3 separate regions of the Homo sapiens genome follow, and all the other regions are linked to region 3. The links are contacts of gene promoters, found by promoter capture Hi-C in human tissues and cell types (Jung and others, 2019). All regions are on one chromosome and are shown on one strand. Each heading gives the region's core, a stretch centred on a gene start or on the middle of the fragment in contact. The rest is flanking DNA. Distances are from core to core; before and after follow the strand shown. Region 1 has its middle 3.7 kb from the start of RNF220. Region 2 overlaps RNF220 (ring finger protein 220). Region 3 holds the start of KLF17 (KLF transcription factor 17).

Region 1 (4,802 bases), core at 177-2,676, 280 kb after region 3:
CTTCCCTTAAAATGACTTTTATTGATTTTCACTCAATGAGAGTTATTCTTCAGAATGAGGATGGAAGGGTCAGAGAGAGAAATTTACCCTGTGTTACCTGTGGAATAGGTGTGCATTTGTATCCAGTCTTGCTTTATTTGTTCTGTTTCCTGTATCCAGAAACCCACACACTGGGGATCATTAGGTCCTCTGTGTCTTGGTCGGAGCTTGAGTACAGTATACTAATAGATCAATTTATGTGTTCATTCATTCAGCAAACATTTATTGAGCAGGCATGTCCTAGGCATTGGAGATACTAAGATGAATAAGACATAGTCACTGCCCTCAGTGACCTCCAGATGTACAAGAAGACACCAGCCTGAAGGCAGCTGGGGTCAGGGAACAAGGCAACTGAATATCCTCCATCAGGAAATCCTAAGAGAATAAAAAGACCAGTCTTGTAACATAAATATAAACATCTAATCAAATTAGCCAATTAGAAAAACATTTTTAAGAAAAGGCAATCTTTTACCAATTTGTCCTATGTATCTTTTGCATTTTTTCTCCCTAATTTCTTTGTCTCCAGTCTTACTCGTCTCCAGTCTACATTTAAAATTGCCTCCAATTTTATTTTTCTAAACCCTGATCTGATCATGTCATTCCTGTTTTGAGAATTTTCACTCATTCATTCTGCACTTTTTATCAATCACCTACTGGATGTTTCCAGTGAGTGTGAAGTGTTTGGGATGCAGTGGTACGCAAGCAGGCCCTACCTTCAAGAAGCTTTAGAATCTAGACCAGGTAGTACTTTCTGAATCTTGTCCTTTTATCTAAATCAGTTGAGTCCGACAGACACCAGTATCTGTTGTGCTAAGTACCACGCAAAACAACTAAGACAGAATTCTGCTTTAAGCAGATCAGAGTCTATTAGAGGAATCTGAAAACAATCGATAATTCCAGTACAATGTGATAAATGAATAGATGCATGCATAGACTGCTATGATAATCAGATTTGAGGAGAAGAGAGGCTGGTGGGCAGGGTGGCTTCCTGGAAGAGTCCATCCCAAACAAAGTCTTGAAGTATAAATAGGAGTTGGCTAGACACTGGGAGTGTCCAGTTAGTTCCTTAATGTGACAAACAAGATCTTTCACAGTCCATTAATCTATTTTTCCAGTCTCCCCTTATATCTTCTACATCTTTTTTTTCAGCTCCCAGCCCAATTTCTGAATGTTTTTCAAATTAGGAATGAATGCCCCTGGTTTATTTAGTGTTGTGCTTTGGATGTGAGAAAGCACCAAATAAATGTGGTGCATCTTTCTGGAGCATCAGTTCTATCAAATGATAAGTAATTTAAAACATGGTTTTATATTAAAGCTTAATATATTTGTGGAATTGAAGGCAAAATTTTCATTCATTTTTCAAGATAAAACAGGATACATAAATTTCAAGCTAGTGGCAAGCCATTTTAGGCTTGCCCTTAGACATCACCACCTGCACCACCTCTTTCTTGAGGAAAAATTTGAGATGTACTATCGGAATGTGGCAGGAAATTTCATGTGCCTTTGCATACGCTATTTGCTCATCCTGGAGTGCTCTTCCTATTTTTCTCCCTTGATAAACTACTTATCCTTCAAAGCCCAACTTAAGTGTCATTCCATATAACAGTCATTTTTAACGAAGCTTAAATGTCATCCCATATGATAGTTATTTTTTAAAACACCCACTTCTGTCTCTGCCTCCTTTCCTAATAGCTCCAGGCAGACTCAGCACCTCCTTCTTTTGTGTTTCTACCACCCTATACTCAGAATATCCATTATAGCACTGCTTTCATTGTGCCATATGTATTTGCTTTCCAATCCATCTCTGCTGTTGGACTATAAACCTCTCTAGGGCAGGCACTATTATTTATCTTTCTATTCTTAGTGACTGGCACTTGGTAGACACTCAATAAATGTTTGTTGAATTTGTGGACCATTCCTTACTCTGCATCACCTCTGTTCTTATATAAAGTGATATCTCCTTTACTTCTCATCTTCAGGGAATGATGTGTTACACAAAAGTATATTTTCCAGACAACTGAAATTTACTTCTTAAAGTATCAAAATCTTCTGTTTAAATCATTTTGGTAGGAATTTATTTTTCTATATTTTCACACGTGTGCTTACTCTCATAAGTAAAATATACTAAGTGTAATGTGTTCCTTGATGACCTATCCCCAAAAGTATCAGGATATGTTTGGTTGGAATTCATGACATCCGCTGGGAGCACTGATGGGATAGGGCTTTTTGCCTTCACACCAAATAACCCTATTTTGTTGTAGTTTTTGAGTTATGGTGCTTGCTTCTTATAGTTCGGTCACCATTTCTCATTGTCAGTGTTCTTGCTCTAACAACACTACCCTTTGCTCTTTTTATATACGTTTTAACGGATATTAAAATTACAAAACTAATATATGTTCACTGAAAACAAACAGAAGTCTATGGAGTAAAAAGTCAAAGTCCTCCCTTCATTCCTGTCTAACCCCCCACCCTGTCACGTCCACACTTTCACTCCCTAGCCATAACCATTGTTAACGGTTTAATGTATCCCTACAGGCCTTTTTCTGTCAATGTGTGTGTACACGTATACGGACAAATATCAAATCATATTGTACATACTGTTGTATGACTTGCTTTTCTCACTCGACAGTATATAATAGGTATCCTTCTATGTCAATACATCCTAGTCTATATCATTCTTTTTAATGGCTGCCCCCTTTTAATTTGACAATCTTAATCAGCTGTGAATGGGAAAGCCAAATAATCAAGCTTATTAGAATTGTACCTAAGAAAGAATAAATCGGCTCTGAATGAAGGCTTGTGTAATTCTCCTAGGAGGGAAATGTGTTAACTTTAGTGCATGGACTTTGTAATGTTTATTTTGGCTATTCTGGGACCCTTTTTGCTTATTTCCTGCTTCATTGTGTTTTGGATAGCTGAGGTTGCTGGACATATGACCTGTGAATTAGTGAGGTATTACATATTCAATTTTGCATTACATAATTTTGCTCTGATTTTATGAGGGATTTGCATTTAATTTATTCGTTTAGATTGCTGTTATAGACAGTGATTAATTCTAGTTTCTGAGTACTTGCATCGTAGTGAGGACCACTGCATGTGGTAACAGCTAAAAATATTTGGCTTGATGATTGAACAGGCCTTCTTATCTGTATCATCTATCTGTGAGAATGTGCACTGGATCTACGGGAACTCTCTAAGTTAGTCTGAGGGAGCCTTTTACTACTGATAAACATTAAAGTACTGACAACATCTTTTGCTATAAATAATAAAATCTTATTTAGGATTTATATAGAGTCTTCCTTCTGCCTTCATCCACCATACTAAAATGGCTAAATCCTGTTGATTCTACCTTTTAGATCTCACTGTAATGTGTCCCCTCCTCTCCACTCACTCTGCCCCAGTACCTTGGTTCAGGCCCTACTTCATCTCAACTGAATTACTTGAGATAGACTTTTTGATTGGCCTCCCTGCCTCTTGTCTAACCTCCACCTTGTCCACCCAGGAACTAGTGCTTGTTTTAAAACAGAAATCCTACCCTGTCACACCCCTAAAACCCTCTAGGGGTTTCTCATCATCTGTAGGATAACATCCACTTTCCTTAGCTTAGTATACAAAGCCTTTTGTGATTTGGCCCACTTCTCCTGCCTATCTCTTGCTGCTCAATGTTTCATATTTCAATTTTGAGGGAAATCAGTGGCTTATAATTCCTTTAACACACCAGGCAAGAGAGTTCTCGATAAATGCTTGTTAAATGAATGAATGAAATACCTTATGTAGCTAGGGTGACCATTCAATCTGCTTGGCCCAGGATGGCCCTTGTTGACATTTGTCATCCCAGTGTAATTATTAAAAGTGTCCCTTTTTTATCATCAAACTTGTCTCAGTTAGATCAATAAATTCTAAGGTCATCCTTATTACAGTGGTTATCAAATTGATTTCTAACTCTTTCTTTGTCTCCTCTACTAGATGGTGAGCTCTTTGAGGACAGGAGTTCATTTTTATATCCTCGTTTATTCATTCAACTAAGAGACTGATGCTGTAAGGTGCTTAGGGTATGATGTAGAATGCAACAAACATGGTTCTTGACTTCATGAAGTTTACAATCCAGCAGGAAATAATAATTTAGTGGAAAGAATAGAGCCTAACATAATAAATGCTGGTGTATGAATGAATGATTAAACATGGATTAGAAGTTCCTCAACAGGCCAGGCGTGGTGGCTCACCCCTGTAATCCCAGCACTTTGGGAGACCGAGACAAGCGGATCACTTGGGGTCAGGAGTTTGAGACCAGCCTGGCCAACATGGTGAAACCGTATTTCTACTAAAAATTATTTGGGCATGGAGGGGCATGCCTGTAATCCCAGCTACTTGGGAGGCTGAGGTAGGAGAATCGCTTGAACTCGGGGCGGAGGTTGCAGTAAGCCAAGATCACACCACTGCACTCCAGCCTGGGCGAGAGAGTGAGATTCCATGTCAAAAAAAATAAATAAATAAAAATAAAGTTCCTCAACAAATAATCCTGATATCACGAATTATAGAAATAGTTGTAAATGTAGAACTCTAAGTGATCAAATTAACAATTTATTTAGAGTTGCCAATTAAAATTTTAAAATACCAACAGCACACATATACATAAACATACTTAATATTTAGATGCTACCTTAATGTTAAACATAAGTAAAAAGGACAATGAAATAATAGCAAGAATGAGATTTTGAGTCTCATTCTTTTTAGACAATTTATAATCCTATGTGGTTCTCTGT
Region 2 (4,732 bases), core at 361-2,860, 480 kb after region 3:
CTTTCACTCCCTCCATCCTACCCCCTTCACCTGCACTTGGGACTGGGCTAATGGACATGCTTCCTCCCAGCCTTCCCCACGTCCCAGGAAGTGGAGCCCATCGGGCAGAGCAGAGCCGTACGGGGTAAGGCAGAGACAGAACTTTCCCCAACAGAAATGGCCTTGCAGGGAGAGTCTGGGAGAGCAGGGAGAGCCTGTTCTCAACTAGACTGCCAAATTGCTCTTTTCCTTTGTCTGGAGCAATGCCTGAGCTCCCTTGCTGAGTTCTGTAAGAGCCTGATCCAGGCATGTGTCCCCAGACCCTATTGCCCCACCGCCCTGGCTCAGGCTGGTATCCAGAAGAAGGTATGGCAGAGGACCAGGAAGGTTATCAGAGAGGCTAAGGGGGCATTCGGTCTTGGGACAGGACTGAAGCAATCAATAGCCCATTGGGAACTGGGGTTAATTTGGGGAATTTGGATTGGATTGGATTGAAGTTTAGGACTTGGGCTAGGAGGTAGGGCTGGGTTGGTTCAAAGTACTGGAGTTAGGTTTAGGTTCAGAGCTTCTCTAGAAACTGCCCAACTCATGCTGGTCTAGCTAAGCCCATCTCCAAAAAAAGAGGGGGCTCTACCCTTGGCCTCTGATTCGGGGCTTTATTTAAAGACATAGGAGTGAGGGTGAAGATTGGCTTTGGAAGACAGCAGAGCCAGTGCCTCCCCACTATGGAGCCGTTTAGTTAGGACCTTGCCACTCAAAGAGCATCCACAGACCCGCAGCACTGGTCTCACCTAGGAGCTTGGTAGAAATGCAAAATCTAGGATCCACTCTAGAGCTGCTGAATCAGAATCTGCGTTTTAGATTAACCTCCAAGTGTTCCATGGACACTTAAAGAAAGTGTGAGAAGCCTGGTGAAGGCTCTGAGTGAAGGAAGGCCCGAGGTAGGGGTGGGAGGCCAAAGGGCACCCAACACCTCGGCCGGCTCCGGGGCCCCTGCCTAACACCCCCTCCCAGTGCTGGAGCCACAGCGACACCTACTGGCCACGGACACCTAGGCCACCCCCTCCAGGACGCCCGGGCCCTGTGGTCCATCTGGCCCAGCCAGTCCTGCACCCTGAAGCTGGCATTCCTGAGTTCTGGGAATCTGGCTCCCCGGGACAGACTAGGGGAGCAGGTACAGGATGGGCCAGGGCTCAGTGCACAGCAGGGTTGTGTGCAGGCTGGGGCTCTGGGGCCTCAGTGTGAAGAAGACAGGATCAGTAAGCAGGTGTTTTCTCAGGGACATGATGCTCAGATCACATCCCCAGCCCTGGCATTCTCTCCAGACTCAGCAATACTGAGCACGTGTTTGTCTGCTCTCTTCACTGAAACCCTCAGCCAGAATGGACAGGGTACAGCTTTCCATTCCAACCAGCATCAAGCAGATGCCCTGTGAGGAACAGAGATTTTTATTTTACTTTTTATTTTATTATTTTATTTTTATTTATTTTTTATTTTTTGAGATGGAGTCTCGCTCTGTCGCCCAGGCTGGAGTGCAGTGGCGCAATCTCAGCTCACTGCAAGCTCCACCTCCCGGGTTCACGCCATCCTCCCACCTCAGCCTCCCGAGTAGCTGGGACTACAGGCGCCCGCCACCACGCCCGGCTAATTTTTTTGTATTTTTAGTAGAGACGGGGTTTTGCCGTGTTAGCCAGGATGGTCTCGATCTCCTGACCTCATGATCCGCCCATCTCAGCCTCCCAAAGTGCTGGGATTACGGGCGTGCGCCGCCATGCCTGGCCGATGAGCAAAGATTTTTGAACCTATGTCTAAATGACTCTTCTGGAAATGGACTTTTAGGAAGGACAACAACTAAAAAGCAACTCAAGGAAGGGGAGCAGGTAGGATATTTCTGGGATATTTCCACTGTAGTGGTTTCTGGAGACTCCCATGAAAGAATTCTAAGTCAAAAGGGGAGACTGAGGCCAAAGGGCAGAGAAGTAAAAAGACAGAGAAGGGGCTGGGTGCGGTGGCTCATGCCTGTAATCCCAGCACTTTGGGAGGCTGAGGCAGGTGGATCACCTGAGGTCAGGAGTCAGAGACCAGCCTGGCCAATATGGTGAAACCCTGTCTCTACTAAAAATACAATAATTAGCTGGGTGTGGTGGCAGGTACCTGTAATCCCAGCTACTCGGGAGGCTGAGGCAGGAGAATCACTTGAACTCGAGAGGCGGAGGTGGCAGTGAGCCCTCGTGCCATTGCACTCCAACCTGGGGGACAAGAGCAAGATTCTGTCTCCAAAAAAAAAAAAATAGTACAGTGCTTTGCACAGAGTAAGCATTTGATTAGTGTTACCACTTCCCTCAGTCACAAAAAAAATAAATAAAGGAAAAACGATAGGGAAGGAAGCCGACCCACTTCCAAGGCAAGGCTCAGCTGACCCATCCCAAGGGACCTGGCTGGCCCAGGGAGGAGAGAAGGGCCTCTTTCTAGGCAGCAGTGAGCCTCCCCTCCCATCATTCCCAAATGCCAGTTATTGCTGGATCCCTTCCCTCTAGTCCGCTCTCAACTATGAGGAGTTTGCCCAAGAACTAAATGAATGTGATTGCCCACCAGTGTTTGCCATTAGTGGTGATTAGTTAAAACATCAGAGTCTAAACAGTCAATTGGTTCTAATAATTAATACTATGGCTCAGCTGTGATTGAGAGAGAACAAGCGAGTGGGAGAGAGGAAGGGAGGAGGATAAGGGACATGGAAAAAGAAGAGAGAAAGGGATTGGCAGAGGAGCTGCAGCTCTGTAGCTACCATTTCCTGACCCACATGCCAGATGCTGTGCTATAGAGTGCATCCAGCTCCAAATTCTGTGCTCTTTCGAGACATTTTATGTAAGTTATACCACCAAGGTATCCTAATCACCCTGTTAGGCAAGTATAATTATTATCTTCTTTTTATAGGTAAGACAAAGGAGGCACAGGAAGGTAAAAGCTAGCAGATGCTCCGTAATAATTTGGTGAATGAATGGATAAATAAATGAATGAAGTAGCCAGAAGTGAAATTCAAACCCAGGTTAGCATGGCTCCAAAAACTTTGGGGGGAAAAGGGGCAAGGAGGGGAGAATTTGAAGAGACAAAGGAAAACAAGACAGAAAACGTACATCCTTCTCTGTCTCAACATACATACACGCCCTTCTCTCTCTCTCTCTCATGCACACACACACACACACACACACACACACACACACACACACACGAACCTCCCTCACCTCCCTCTCTCACGCTGTGCCCCTCCCTCCCATCCACACCTCTCACGTTCTTTTCATACACAACATGTCTGTTATGCACCCCTTTCTCTCATCTCCCCTCACACACCCACTCTTGCACACACACCGTTTCTCACGAATGTCTCCCAGATGGCTCCGGCACACACGCACCTCTCTGTCTCATAGAAGCCTCTCACATGCACATATTCACCCCTCTCTCAGCCACACTTTTTTATTTCTCCTTGCACACTTCTTGGTCTTTCTCACTCTTACATGGACCTCTTTCTCTCATGTACACGCCTCCTCTTCCCGGCGCCCTTGTCTGTCTTCCTCAGTGCGCTATCTCCAGTCTCAAAGACAGTTTGGGAAATGAAATAAACATACACCCGTCTACCTCCTTCACATACAACCCCCCACTGTCTCCTCACACCCCACCCCACCCACCTCTCTCTCTCTCTCTCTCTCGTTCTCTCTCGAACACAGGTGTACACTTTGGGACATATCCTGAAACCAGCCCCCTCATGCCCCCTGCCCGCCCCCTCCAAGAGTCAGGCCTCCAGATGTGCTCTCTCTGGCTAGGCTTGCTAATCTTTGAACTGTCCCCAGATCTTGAATGGTCATGTGGACTTTCCTGCCTGGTGATGGGGAGGGGGAAACAGGGAGGGGGCTAAGCCCAGAGTCCTCAGTTATTCTGGAGCAGGTTCAGCTCCTCCCCACCCCTCCCCAGGTCATGAGCAGCAGCAGGAGCTGCAAGCGAGCAAGATGGCTGTGTGTGTATTGCTATTAATCACCCCTCCTGGTCCGCTAACGAGGCTAATGCGGTAAGTGACAATAGCCCATCTTGGTTCCTGATTTAGGGGCTCAGGACGGAAGCTGGGCTCCTGGGAGTGAAGACGTGAATTCTCCACGACACTAAACCTTCAAATAAATCTCCTCCAGTCAGAGAAGCCCAGGGCACTAAATCCCACACGCCGGTAATTGAAACCCTTAGAGCTTTCTTGGGTAGGGAAATTGCTGAGTGAGAGAGAGAAAGCGTGCAGCCCAGGGGTTCCGGGTGGGGCTTGGGCCCACAGAGAGGCCTGCCGAGGGCTCTGGGATAGGGGAGCTGCTGGGGACCCTCTAGGAGCACGTGACTGGCCATATGTCCTGGTGTGCATGTCTGTCAGTGTTTCTAGGCATGGGATTTTGCTGTCTGGTTATGTTCACATGGTCACTGGTCACCCATTTCCCACCAGGTCTATGACCACTTGATATTTTGGTAAGGAGAGCAGTTCTGGAGCTTCTGTATTTCGAGAGCTTCTACCCTTTGACACCCTTAGGGCCTCTGACTCTCACTGACCATGAAGCAAGGCTTCATTTAAGCAAAAGAAGGTTTCGGCATTGCCTCAATTGCCTTCCTTCCCCTATCCCCACCTCTCTCACCCTCACACTTCCCCCACCCCATCTCTCTTTTTTTCCAGACATTCTCCTGCAGGCCTTTCACTCCCATTCACTTAGTCCCTGAATCATTTAAC
Region 3 (4,475 bases), core at 1,624-4,123:
TCCTTTTTCTGGCCATTATTATGATTTGTTTCATTTTATGATGATTTGAAAATATGAAATTTGAATTATGGAAATAATTTTATTTTTAGAGGAGGGGGGTATAAAAATGATCTGCTCTGTGTGTCAAACATGATCCATTCTACAAATATTTCCTAAATGCCATGTTGGGAGAAACACTAGGTATGTGGGAACTGAAAGAGGCATCAAATGGGAGTCAGAGATGGCCCCAGGAGGAGGTGATCCTGGAGTTGAGAGCTGAGCCATTGTTAGCCATAGAATCATAGCCACCATTTCTCAAGGGCCTGCTCTCAGCCCCACTCCATACTAGTAGTTGGGGACCCTAAGATACATAAGAGCCTTCTTACCCCACTTGTTATGATAGAGCAAATGTCCCTGCTCTCACTAAAGGCCCACTTGTCTATTGGTACTCCAGATCCTGTCCTTTCTTGATTCATCCATGACTTTGCTCTTATAATTGAGCCCTCTGTTTCTATATCAGTTTCTCCTTTGGTGCATCCCCATCAGCCTATAACATGCCCTCCCTTAACTGCCACCTCATTTTTCTGCTCTCATTCGTAGCAAAACTTCTTGTTTAGAGTTTAGAGATAATGTCCCACTCCATCAACTCCTCTTCCCTTGGCAGCCCAGTCCAATCAGGCTTCCTTTCTACTGCACTTGGTTTTGTCAGAGTCACCAGTGACCTCCGTCTTGCCAAATCCAGTAGTCACTTACCTGTTTATTTCAACCTCTCAGGTTCTTTGGATGACTTTGCTGTTCTGCTGGGCCTTAAATGTAGGAGTCCCCAGGCTCTGTCCTCTGTCCTGTTGTCAAACTATCTCCAGTGTTGATAGCATCCACTCTAATGGCCTTCTAACTACCATCTCTATGCTGACAACACCCAAGTTTACATTTACAGCCCTGACCTTCTCTGAGCATAATTAATAGACATCTCAAAATCAGTGTCTAAAATGGAATTCTTGTTTCAGTTGCCTCCAAATCTGCTCCTCTTCCTATCTTTCCATATACCAAGTGGCACGATCATCATGCAGTTGCTCAAGCCAATAATCTAGGAGCCTTTTTGATTCCTCTTTCCCTCCCTCCCTACCCCCTTCTGATCCATTACAAATTCTGTTTTTCATTCTTTTTTTTTAGAGATGGGATCTCACTATGTTGCCAAGGTTGGAGTGCACTGGCCATTCACAGGTGTAGTAATCCCATTACCAATCAGCATAGGAGTTTTGACCTACTCTATTTCTGACCTGGGCCAGTTCATCCCTCCTTAGGCAACCTGGTGGTGCCCCACTCCTGGGAGCTCACCATACTGATGCTGAACTTAGTGTGGACACCCAATCAGCACAGCACACTGCAGCCCAGACCTCCTGGGCTCAAGTGGTCTCCCGCCTCAGCCTCCTGAGTAGCTGGGACTACAGGTGGGCACCACCTCCATGACCAAACACTGACATCTCTTTCTTGGACAGCTCCTTTTTTATTTATTTTATTTTATTTTATTTTATTTTATTTATTTTATTTTATTTTATTTTATATTTTATTTTATTTTATTTTTTGAGACGGAATTTTGCTCTTGTTGCCCAGGCTGGAGTGCAATGGCGCGATCTCGACACACTGGAACCTCCACCACCCGGATTCAAGCGATTCTCCTGCCTCAGCCTCCTGAGTAGCTGGGATTACAGGCACGCGCCACCACGCCTGGCTAATTTTTTATTTTTAGTAGAGACGGGGTTTCACCATGTTGGCCAGGCTGGTCTCAAACTCCTGACCTCAAGTGATCTGCCCGCCTCAGCCTCCCAAAGTGCTGGCGTTGCAGGCGTGAACCACTGCGCCCAGCCTCATCTCCTTTAGATTTCTAACTGGTGTCTCTGCACCCCTCTGGCCCTTTATAATCCATAAGGAGCCAAATGGTTTATTTTAAAAACATATATCAGATCACATCAAATTCCTGTTTAAAAGCATCAGTGGCTTCCCGCCACACTTAGAATAAAATCCAAATTCCTTTCTATGGTCTTCAAGGCCCTATCCCTCTGTCCTCGTGTCACTGTCCATGTGGTATCACCGTGGTCACCTTGCCTTCAATTTCCTTCTAGCACCGTTGGGCTCTTTTTTGCCTTAGAGCCCTTCAATCTTCCTATGGCTGGCTCCTTTCAGGCATTTCATTTTCAGCTCACATTTCTGTTTTGGTTTTCCATAGCACTCACCACCACCTAAAATTATAATAGTTAACAACTTTATTACTCATTTCTTGTCTTCCCGTATAAGATGGAAATTGACAGCAAGGACTTTGTTCTGTCCTGTTTACTATTTTACCCCTAGTTCAGAGATCAGTGCCCAACACACACGGGGCACTCAGTAAACACTGCGGAATAAACAGGTTGTGCCATGAAGCTCCCAGTCTTCAGTTCGTACAGACAAGGGACAGAGGTGCACAGACTGTAGCAGAAAAGCTCCAGCCCTTCCAAAGCTTATGGCAAGATCCCGACCTGAGAGAGTGCTGGTGGAGGCTCTCCTATCGGTAGAGGCCCTACACCCAACCTTGCCTCTCTCTCCAGCCTCGCCTCTCTCTCCAGCCTCCTCCTGGCTGGAGTTGGAGACCTGGGTGTCCTCAGTCCCCACTTGGGTGAAACAGTTGCTCAGACTGAGGGGTGGAATGGGTCGGTTGGGTGGGCGGACCAAATTCCTTTAAGAAGCGTTCAAGGCCTGAAGTGGCTGGCTGTCCGTGAGGCTGCCTTGGTTGGGGCATGGTGAGGGTGGGTGGCAGCCTGGGGCAGGGCTGCGAGGGCGGCGCAGGGCGGGACGGGTGGGGCCTGACCCCGCCCCTTGGCGCAGCTGTAAATAGGTAAATAGAAGGTGATTGTGGCGTGGCGATGTACCGATACCCGCCTGCGACGCCGTGGTGGCTGGTTCCCTGTCTCTTCAGTAGAGAGTCTAGACCCCACCCAGTCTTCATGTACGGCCGACCGCAGGCTGAGATGGAACAGGAGGCTGGGGAGCTGAGCCGGTGGCAGGCGGCGCACCAGGCTGCCCAGGTGAGTCAGGTGCCAGCCCCTGGCAGGCCGGGCGGGCCCAGGCTAGGGGGCGGCGGGGAGGGGAGGCCTTGGAGGAGAGGTGAGGCGGAGGGAAGCAGAAACCCGAGGGGTAGAAATCCGAGGGGAGGGGTGGCAAAGGAAGGAATGGGAGATTGGGGAGGGGTTGCAAAGGGAGGGATGGGAGATTGGGGAGGGGTTGCAAAGGGAGGGATGGGAGACTGGGGAGGGATTGGAAAGGGAGGGTTGTGAGATTGAGGGTGTAAATCATACGTCGTTTATTCCAACAATGTTCGCCCAGCAGTAGAGCTTGTGTTGGCCGCGTGGCGGGTAAGAGGGTTCTAGGCAACTTTCTGGTGAGGGACTTGAGTAGGCAGGACAGCAAAGACCAAGTTAGGAAGTGAGCAGGAAACAACAGGAAAAAAAAAAAAAACCCCAAAAATGTTAATTGGAGCCCTACTAAGTGGTAGGCTTTTCCCAGACCCTGGAAATACAATGATGAATTTACCATGAAACAGATATATATAAAATTGTATGAATAAATCGTTAACTGAATGATTGGAATTGTACAGCGTTACATGAAGAAGAAGTCAGGGGCGCGTGGGAGCAGATACCAGAGGTGTTTGACCCGATTTGGGAGGCTTAGGAGACAGCTGAGACTCTGTTCTGGGACTAAAGAACCCGTCAGGTGAAAGGTTCCCAGGTCTGAGACCACAGGCTGCATGCTTCCTCTTAGGAGGAACTGAAAGACCAGGGCCTAGACAGTGATGGAAGGGTGGCCCCAGGGACACCATTGAGATCATTCAGGGCTTGTTTATTCCAAGAACAGTGGGAAGCCATTGATGAGTTTAAACATAATCTGTCTCAATTAGATTTGCATTTTCAAAGGAGTGCCCTGGTGGATGTGGGCTGGATTCAAGGCAACAGTTAGAAAGCTTTTGTGATAATCCAGGTGAGAATTCAAATGGCGGCCTACCTGCAGAAGTGAGAGTGGAGATGGAGAAGCTAAATATATCATAGATTGTGGAGATGTTTTGGAGGCAGAGACCACAATCATTGGTCCCCGGGTGGTGAGGGAGACATCTAGAGTAACAGATTTCTTGCTTGCACAATTGGGTGACAATAGTGACATTTTCTGAGAGAGAGTGAAGGATGAGAAGGACAAGATTAATTTGTTGTTTGAGGGAGGTGGGCAAAGATGCTAGTGAATTTTGGCCATAGTCCATTAGAAGAGCATGTGGGCCATCCGAAAGGACTCAAACAATAGGTAGCTGGAAAATTCAGGAGCCATCTTCGCCAGAGCGAAGATTCCAGATTTAGGAATAGTTGGACTGTAAACAGAAACAAAACCACTGGCATGGGGAAGCTTGCCCAGAGAGAGCAGGGAAAGGGAAATCTGCAAAAGAAACTGTGAAGGAGGGGGTCTGAGAGAAGGGA

The links. The method cuts DNA at HindIII sites, captures the fragments that hold promoters and counts their contacts. A contact is called where the count stands out against the background at its distance.
Region 1: a contact is called between a fragment that was not itself captured here and the fragment with the promoter of KLF17 in region 3, in 2 of the 25 tissues and cell types used here (dorsolateral prefrontal cortex and mesenchymal stem cells).
Region 2: a contact is called between a fragment that was not itself captured here and the fragment with the promoter of KLF17 in region 3, in 1 of the 25 tissues and cell types used here (IMR-90 fibroblasts).

What each region holds. Positions count from the first base shown.
Region 1 is chr1:44,399,137-44,403,938 of GRCh38, forward strand. No RefSeq gene overlaps it. Among named protein-coding and RNA genes, the nearest start is that of RNF220, 3.7 kb to the right of the region's middle. The HindIII fragment of the contact is 5,699 bases long and covers 1-4,276 here.
Region 2 is chr1:44,594,304-44,599,035 of GRCh38, forward strand. All of the region lies in intron 2 of RNF220 (ring finger protein 220), which reads left to right. Among named protein-coding and RNA genes, the nearest start is that of MIR5584, 51 kb to the left of the region's middle. RefSeq lists a silencer at 940-1,111. The HindIII fragment of the contact is 8,491 bases long and covers 1-4,732 here.
Region 3 is chr1:44,115,948-44,120,422 of GRCh38, forward strand. It overlaps KLF17 (KLF transcription factor 17), which reads left to right and starts at 2,874. Exons shown (of 4, transcript NM_173484.4): 1 at 2,874-3,041. The coding sequence starts at 2,961. It also overlaps the pseudogene RN7SL479P. RefSeq lists a promoter at 1,863-2,851 and an enhancer at 3,420-4,187. The HindIII fragment of the contact is 4,517 bases long and covers 1-4,188 here.